Linked DNA regions of Homo sapiens: region 2 is linked to region 1. Evidence: promoter capture Hi-C in 16 types of primary human blood cells and fetal thymus (Javierre and others, 2016). All regions are on one chromosome and are shown on one strand. The core of a region is centred on a gene start or on the middle of the fragment in contact, and the rest is flanking DNA. Distances in the headings are between cores, read along the strand shown.

Evidence for each region. Contacts are between HindIII fragments. The CHiCAGO score rates a contact against its expected background, and 5 or more counts as called.
Region 2: a contact is called between a fragment that was not itself captured here and the fragment with the promoter of FEM1B in region 1, in 1 of 17 cell types (non-activated CD4 T cells). The highest score is 5.0, in non-activated CD4 T cells.

The regions. Positions count from the first base shown.
Region 1 is chr15:68,275,426-68,279,016 of GRCh38, forward strand. FEM1B (fem-1 homolog B) reads left to right here and starts at 2,320. Exons shown (of 2, transcript NM_015322.5): 1 at 2,320-3,240. The coding sequence starts at 2,993. RefSeq lists enhancers at 2,316-3,217, 2,960-3,159 and a silencer at 2,600-2,929. The HindIII fragment of the contact is 2,784 bases long and covers 1,133-3,591 here.
Region 2 is chr15:67,523,140-67,527,011 of GRCh38, forward strand. C15orf61 (chromosome 15 open reading frame 61) reads left to right here. Exons shown (of 2, transcript NM_001143936.2): 2 at 3,279-3,872. The coding sequence ends at 3,406. Among named protein-coding and RNA genes, the nearest start is that of IQCH-AS1, 3.2 kb to the left of the region's middle. The HindIII fragment of the contact is 1,999 bases long and covers 1,561-3,559 here.

The DNA.
Region 1 (3,591 bases), core at 1,070-3,569:
GTCTCCAGTCAGCCAATAGCTATTAAGAAACCAAGGGAGCCCAGAAGCCTATACGAAGCAACTTTGATAAACACAGAAGAAAACAGCAGCCCAAACCTCCTGACTTTGGGCTGCTGGAGCAAAGAGGTATTCCCATCTTGGGATGGAGGCCACACAATGCAAGTTCTGAGCCCCTCTCTAGCTTGACCCTTGGAGCAGTCACCCCTTGTAGTACCCATCCAGTTATACCACCAAACTGAGGTAGAGAGGGCACGAGGAAGAAGGGAGTCTCTTATTCAGCAATGAGTCTGGATGAATCAGGTCTCCCTTAGAAAACAAAACTGGAAGAAGGGGCCTGTGTCTGGACTTTTTTACATCACCTTCTTCAGAAAGTTGGTTCGGAATAGAATGTAGAATGATTCAGGAACATAATAGGGTAAAAGGCTATGAGGAGATGGTTTTTCTAAAGAGCCAGGCACTCCTCCAGGTCAGCTTGTGCCCAGGTAATCAAAGTGTGTTGGCAGAGGAGAGGGAGGGTGGTAGGGAGACGGAGTTAGAGATATGGAGAGACAGAGAGAGATAGAAAGGCAGAGAGGAGACAGATGGTAGATGAGGTGCATGCTTGCCGTATGGAGCCAGAAAAGGAAGTCATCACACATCTGAATGTGTGAATCCGAGACCAAAAAGCCTGGGTCCCTGTCAAACACTGGGTTTTTTCATGACCCTGAAGTCCCCAAATAAACCAGCCAGCTTCCCCCACTTCTCTATCAGCTATTTCAGAGACGCTACCAGTAGAATCTTACCTTCAGCCCTTATTGCCAATGCTGTTTTTGTTTATGGTAAGGAGAAAAATAACTCGTGTTTCTGTAGGGATCTGCAATAAGTGGGTAAAGCTGAGCTGTAGAATGGAGAGAATTTGAGAAGTGACCCACACCTCCACCAATAGCTGCAATGGAAGTGAGGCCTTTACCTCCTAGAATTGGAATGGTGGGGTTCAAATAAAATAATGTATGTGAACTTGTTGAGCCGAGCCCAGTCCCTTGGAGCCACATAAATGCATTTGTTCTTTCTCTATGGTAAATTTTGTCCTTTGGGGAAGGGAGGAAGAGGGAGGAAGTCACTTTCATATTGAGTTTTTTGAGACTGTCCCAGAAGCTTCATCACCTACCATTCACTCCTACCATCCTAATCCAAGGCCTGTCCCCCTATCTACTCTTGCCTTCCAGAGTTTATTCTCCATACAGCAGCCAGAGTGATCTTTTTAAAAAACACAAATAGCATCTTGTCACTTCCCTCTTTAAAACCCTTCAAATGCCCCCATCACAGAGTAGACTTAAACCCTTTGCTATGGGTTATTAGGCCCTAACGTGTGTTGCATCCTCTGACTTCATCTATCATTCTTACTGTGGCCCACTCTGCTGCAGCCACACTGACCTTTCTGTTTCCGAGCTCACCAGACTGTTCCCTCCTCAGGACTTTTATATTAGCTGTCCCCTTTGCCTAGAATACCGTCTGTTCTTGTCACTTGTCATAGAGGTCTTGTCTGATCACCCAAACTAAATGAGTGCCCCCATCATTCTATTTCATTTGCTTCAGAGCAAATGGTAATGATACCAGTTCAACTGATCTTGTCTATCATTTGTTGACTTATTTGTTCCATTACTGAATCCCTAGTGCTAAGCAGAGCCTGGCACGTAGTCGACCTCTAATATTCATTGGATAAACGATCGTTTCAAATCCTAACAACAATCTTGTGATGTCTGTGAGAAAACGGAGGTTCTGCCGGCTCAGGATGAGATTCCTGCTCTGTCTGAACGCGGGACTCGCTTTCCTTCCCAGGATACCTCGCTCCTTCCACCGCGAGCGCAGCTCCCCTTCGCTCCCATCTTTCTCTCACACTTAACCCCTTTCTCCGGGAAAGTCAGGCCGTACTTCCAGTCCCTTCTCAGAGCCTGGTGTTGTGGCTCTCAAGCCCTCCCACATTTCGGGAACTCAGAAACGCCGCCCTTTTCCTGAAATGGACCCTCCGAGTACGCGCAACCCCTTCCCTAACCCCGGCTCAGGGGCAGAAGCAGGACCCGCACCGTCTATAGTAAAATAGGGTGGTCTCCTTAGCCCATCAGCTTAGCGCCCTCACTCCGCCCCCACTCCCTGGCTGGAGACCCTCAGGGCCGTTTAGGGGCCAGGAGGAGGTTCCAGGAGTCAAGGACATTGAGGACATCCAGGCCCAAACGGGATGGGCCAACTACGCGCAGCAGAACCTTTCTCTACCGGGCCCGCGTGTGCCCGCCGGTCGGCTTAGGCGGAGACACCCCACTTAGCGTCCCTCCCGCTCCCGCCCTCTCCTCCCGGCCCTGTCTGCGAAAGCTCGTCTTCCTCCCCGCCCAAGTTCCGGCGCCGCTCTTGCGGGAGCGTTCCGCATCGCCCCGGGGGCCCCTACGCGAGGATCTCCGGGGCCGTTGGCAGCGCCTGGCACTTCTGAGCTCGGCGGACGAGAGCCTGCAGGTTTCCTCCAGTCAGGGACGGCGAAGGGCGGAAAGCGCAGGAGGAGGCAGTGTTAGGCCTTAGGCCGGGTGGGCCGGGTCAGGAGAGACGCGCCCATCTTTCGCCATCCGGGGTGCGCGAGGTCCTCTCGGGACCCGGCCGGCGACCCGTAGCTCGGGCACGCGCCTGTCGCATCCCGCAGGAAGGAGGGGTCCGGCCTGAGGCCCGGGGCGGCGTCCGCCATGGAGATCCCCTCGGTCCAGGGCCGGCGCCTGGGACCTGGCGGGCGGCCCTGACCGCCTTCCTCCCTGCGCGGGCTGGGTCGCGGACGTGCCCTTCGCGGCACTCGGCCTCCTCTGCGTCTCCGCCTTCCCTGGGCCGCACTGCTGCCTGGGCGCGGCGGCGGCGACGGCGCCCTGTTGAATGGGCTGTGAGGGCCCAGGTTTAAAGCGCTGGCGAACGCGGCCTCCGGGGGCGCACGGCAGCTGCAGCGGTGGCGACCAAACGGGTGTTGGAGTTGGCGGCGGCCATGGAGGGCCTGGCTGGCTATGTATACAAGGCGGCCAGCGAGGGCAAGGTGCTGACTCTGGCCGCCTTGCTTCTCAACCGGTCTGAAAGCGACATCCGCTATCTGCTTGGCTATGTCAGCCAGCAGGGAGGGCAGCGCTCCACGCCCCTCATCATCGCAGCCCGCAATGGACACGCAAAGGTGGTACGCTTGCTCTTAGAACATTACCGGGTGCAGACTCAGCAGACTGGCACCGTCCGCTTCGACGGGTAGGTACATCCCAAGCCAGCCTCTCTCCGACGCGCGCGGACTCGTTAATTCACGGGCCCTCCCCTCCCTCACCCTCTCTTACCCTCTCTTCATGTAGGTACTCACTTCTCCCCTTTTTGTACCACCTCCTGCCCCACTAATGCCCACTTCATCTTCCAGGGCTAATAATCCATCCCATGTTTTGCTGCCCGTCCTCATCAGCCCCTACCCCTCATTCCCTCTGTGGGAAGATAACCACACCCTCGGCCTTGAAATCTAATAGTCGTCTTCTCTACTAGATAGTCTGTGAACAAGCCATTTGGAGGAGGTGGCTGCCTTTCCAGGTTTTACTTTTAGTGGAACTGGTGATG
Region 2 (3,872 bases), core at 1,310-3,809, 750 kb before region 1:
TTAAGCAAAAAGGACAACTTTTTGCTCATGCATGCTTTAATACAAATTGGGATATACTGATAAAGGGAATTAAAAAATATTTTAAAGTGGTGAACACATCTGGTAACGTTTATTTTTAATTTTTGTCTGAAGGTAGAGGGGATGTGAATTAGATAATAGGTCCTTTCCTATTCTGTGAGGTACAATCGTCTCTCTGGGTGATAAAGTACATATCCTATTAATATTATACTTAGGATTTTGTTCCTCTTCTTCCCTTCCAAATTCATTTTTCCATTTTGTAAATAATAAAGATTTCTGTTTACCCATTTGCTCCTTTTCTCCTCCGTCTTCCCTTCAATGGAAGCTGACATTTTACTGATGGTTTACCAGTCTAGGTATCCTGCTGAGAAGTAGATTGAGATTTAAGAAAAGCAACTTACCATTGGAATGAATGAGATTTACTGAGGAATTCTAATTTTTTAAAGTGCTTAATTTGACAGTGGTTTACCTACTGTTCAGCTGACTCAAAGTGAATTATTATGCAAAGAACTGATTTGGAGGTTCTTTTGATGTTACATGTTTCAGATATAAATTTAATTTTTCAGAAAAAATTGAATTTTTCATAGAATCTTATAGACTTCAAAGCATGTGTGCTACAAAGATTTTGTAATATATAAGTTATATAGGTGGCAAACCTTCCCATTTTGAGTATTAGTCTGACTGCATTAAATAAACAGACAGCAAGGGGAAAAAAATACAGAATTTCTGACTCAGATCATAACTCCATCTCCTGTCAAACAGCATCACTGCTAATGGTTGCTGGTTATTTTTTAATAAGACATAATATAGTTATTAAGCTAGTAATCTTTGATCAGCCCTTGATTTTAGCTGAAAATATATTGACCGTTTATTTCTGTATTTGTGATTTTTCAAAAGTATGAATTTTTTAAATCAATATGTTAACTGAAAACTATGATAAATACTATAAAAGAAAATTGTCAGTGTCACCAGGTATTCCTTAAATTTATATACTTAGCCTTGGTTTAAGAGGCCTATTTTATGTATTTTAGTCTCAGTATGCTTAGAAAATTAGTAATTGCTTCTAGAGCCTATTTTTTTTCTTCCTCACTCCATTGATTTTCAGCTTTGAAGTTGTGATATTGCATTTTAAATTTATTTTTTATTTCAACTACTCCCTATACTTCACTCTCATTTCTGCCTAGCTTGTTCATATTCTTCTTTTTCTACCTCCCACCCCTGAGCCACTTGCCTTTTTTTTTCTTTGTGGTTAAATGATTTATAAGTAGCTTTATTATTCTAGTTTTTGTGGATTTTTTTATGACATTCCCTTGAGGTATTCAGAGATTCTTTTGGACATTATCAGGGCAAAGAAGGTGATACACTATAAAAGGTTTCATGGGAGTTCCAGGGAACCCTGTGATGGTGACAAACTGTGACCCAGTATATTCCTAAAAATAGAGAGATGCCAGCCTGAATGGGCATTTTTTTCCCCTTCTCATTACCAGCTAGTGATGTGATGCTTCTCCTGATTAATCTCTGGCATCACAGTGGCTGGAATGAAGCTTCAGGGAGTAAGCACAAAGTGGTTCAGCAAACACACTCAAAAAGAGCTTAACACAGCAAATATATTCTTGCAGAAAAATAAGACCAAAATTTAGCAATATGATTAGTCCAGAGCATGTGTTGCTTTTTTGTTTGTTTTTTTTTTTTTTTTTTGAGATGGAGTCTCCCTCTGTCGCCAGGCTGGAGTGCAGTGGTGTGATCTCGGCTCAGTGCAACCTCTGCCTCCTGGGCTCAAGCAATTCTCCTGCCTCAGCCTCCTGAGTGGCTGGGATTATAGGCATGCGCCATCACGCCCAGCTAATTTTGTATTTTTTGTAGAGACGGGGTTTCTCCATGTTGGTCAGGCTGGTCTCGAACTCCCAACCTCAGGTGATCCGCCTGCTTCGGCCTCCCAAAGTGCTGGGATTACAGGCGTGAGCCACAGTGCCCAGCCGCGTTCTTTATTACTAGAAAGAAAGTGATTTTCCAAATGTACAGCTATCCTTTTAAAGTGTCACTTTCTGCCCATTTCCCACATAAGAGCATAAAATTAATGCTTGTCCAGAGCATACAGTATTTGTTATTGATTCATGTGCCTATGGTTTTATTACATATGTTTTTAATATGTTAGTAGTCATTAATTTTAAATAAGTACCTTTAAAAAGATAGGAATTGTGAAAGTTTGTTTTGTGCCAACAGTCTTATATGCATGTGAGTGCTTAATACATATCTCTGGATAGTGTGTTTAGTTTCATGTATCACAAATGGCAACTAATCTCAAAGCAGCAAAATCTTATCAATTCCAAAGAAGAAACACATGTTGGAGTCTACTATATATCTATTTCAAATTGGTTGAAATGAGGTTGTTTTCAGATCAATTGAAAAAATGCTAATAATAGTTTTTTTTCTCATGCCTGTTGTACTGAAATCTTACTTGGAGTTAGGTTTTGCTTTAGATTTTAAAGACAGCTCTTTGACCGAGCTTCTTTTAAGTTGTACAAAAATTACTTCAACCATTAGTGTTACTACTAACTTAAAGAACAGTAATGTTGGCCGGGCGCGGTGGCTCACACCTGTAATCCCAGCACTTTCGGAGGCCTAGGCCCAGGATCACAAGGTCAAGAGATCGAGACCATCCTGGCCAACATGGTGAAACCCCATCTCTACTAAAAAAGTACAAAAATTATCTGAGCGTGGTGGCGCGCGCCTGTAGTCCCAGCTACTCAGGAGGCTGAGGCAGGAGAATCGCTTGAACCCAGGAGGCGGAGGTGGCAGCGAGCCGAGATCGCGCCACTGCACTCCAACCTGCCAACAGAGTGAGACTCCATCTCACAAACAAACAAACAAACAGTAGTGTTAACTTAGTAATTTTAGCTCAAGGCTAATAATCAGGAGCGTCTACAACTAAATTAATGAGTATTCTTCTCCATTTTCTTATTTATGAAAAGAATATAGCATTACTTCATGATTATTTGAGGGTAATGAATTTATGAAGTACTCGAATTAACATTTATACCCGCCTTGTCTATAGTATGAAAACCTCTGGACTCACGTGATTGCCATCATGTGCCACGTTGATGAAATTGAGCTCTTAGATAATCAGAGTCAATGTTGATTAATATTTTTATATTTTATCACATTGTAATTTGTTAACATTGCTGAAGAGTGTTATACGTGATCAGTAACTTGCATGATTAATAAGCATTGATGTTTATACATATTCGTTTGTTTTCTAGGTATTCCAACTTTATTATATGGACTTGGCTCCTGGTTATTTGCCAGAGTCACAGAGACTGTGCATACCAGTTATGGACCCATAACAGTTTATTTTCTCAATAAAGAAGATGAAGGTGCCATGTATTGAAAGTGTGCGTCAAAGAACATAAATATCAGTGGATTTTCTCTGTGTATATGTGCAGTATTTATTTTTGATCCTTTAAAATAAAACTTTTGCAAATACTTTTTTCTTTCTACAGTATCTGCTTCTTTAAGATGAATCATTGCCCTCAAGAGGTGAAGCTTTTTATACATCGTTATATATTACATACTCTGTTTAGCTGATGTGAACTACAAACACATGAAGCTTCACACCATTTTTTCCCTAGAACTAGGTTAACCTACAGATAAAAAATGATTACAATGTAATAGATTCTATAGTTAATTAACAATTTAAATCAACTCTGAAGAGAAAATATAGATGCCCACACAAAAGAGAAGGGGGGAAAATCTTTTATGTAACAATGGAAAAAGAAGTAGAAGACATTAGGATGTATGATGGAAATATTACATCATTGGCAAATCCAAAATTGATGAGAATCTAATTGTAATCT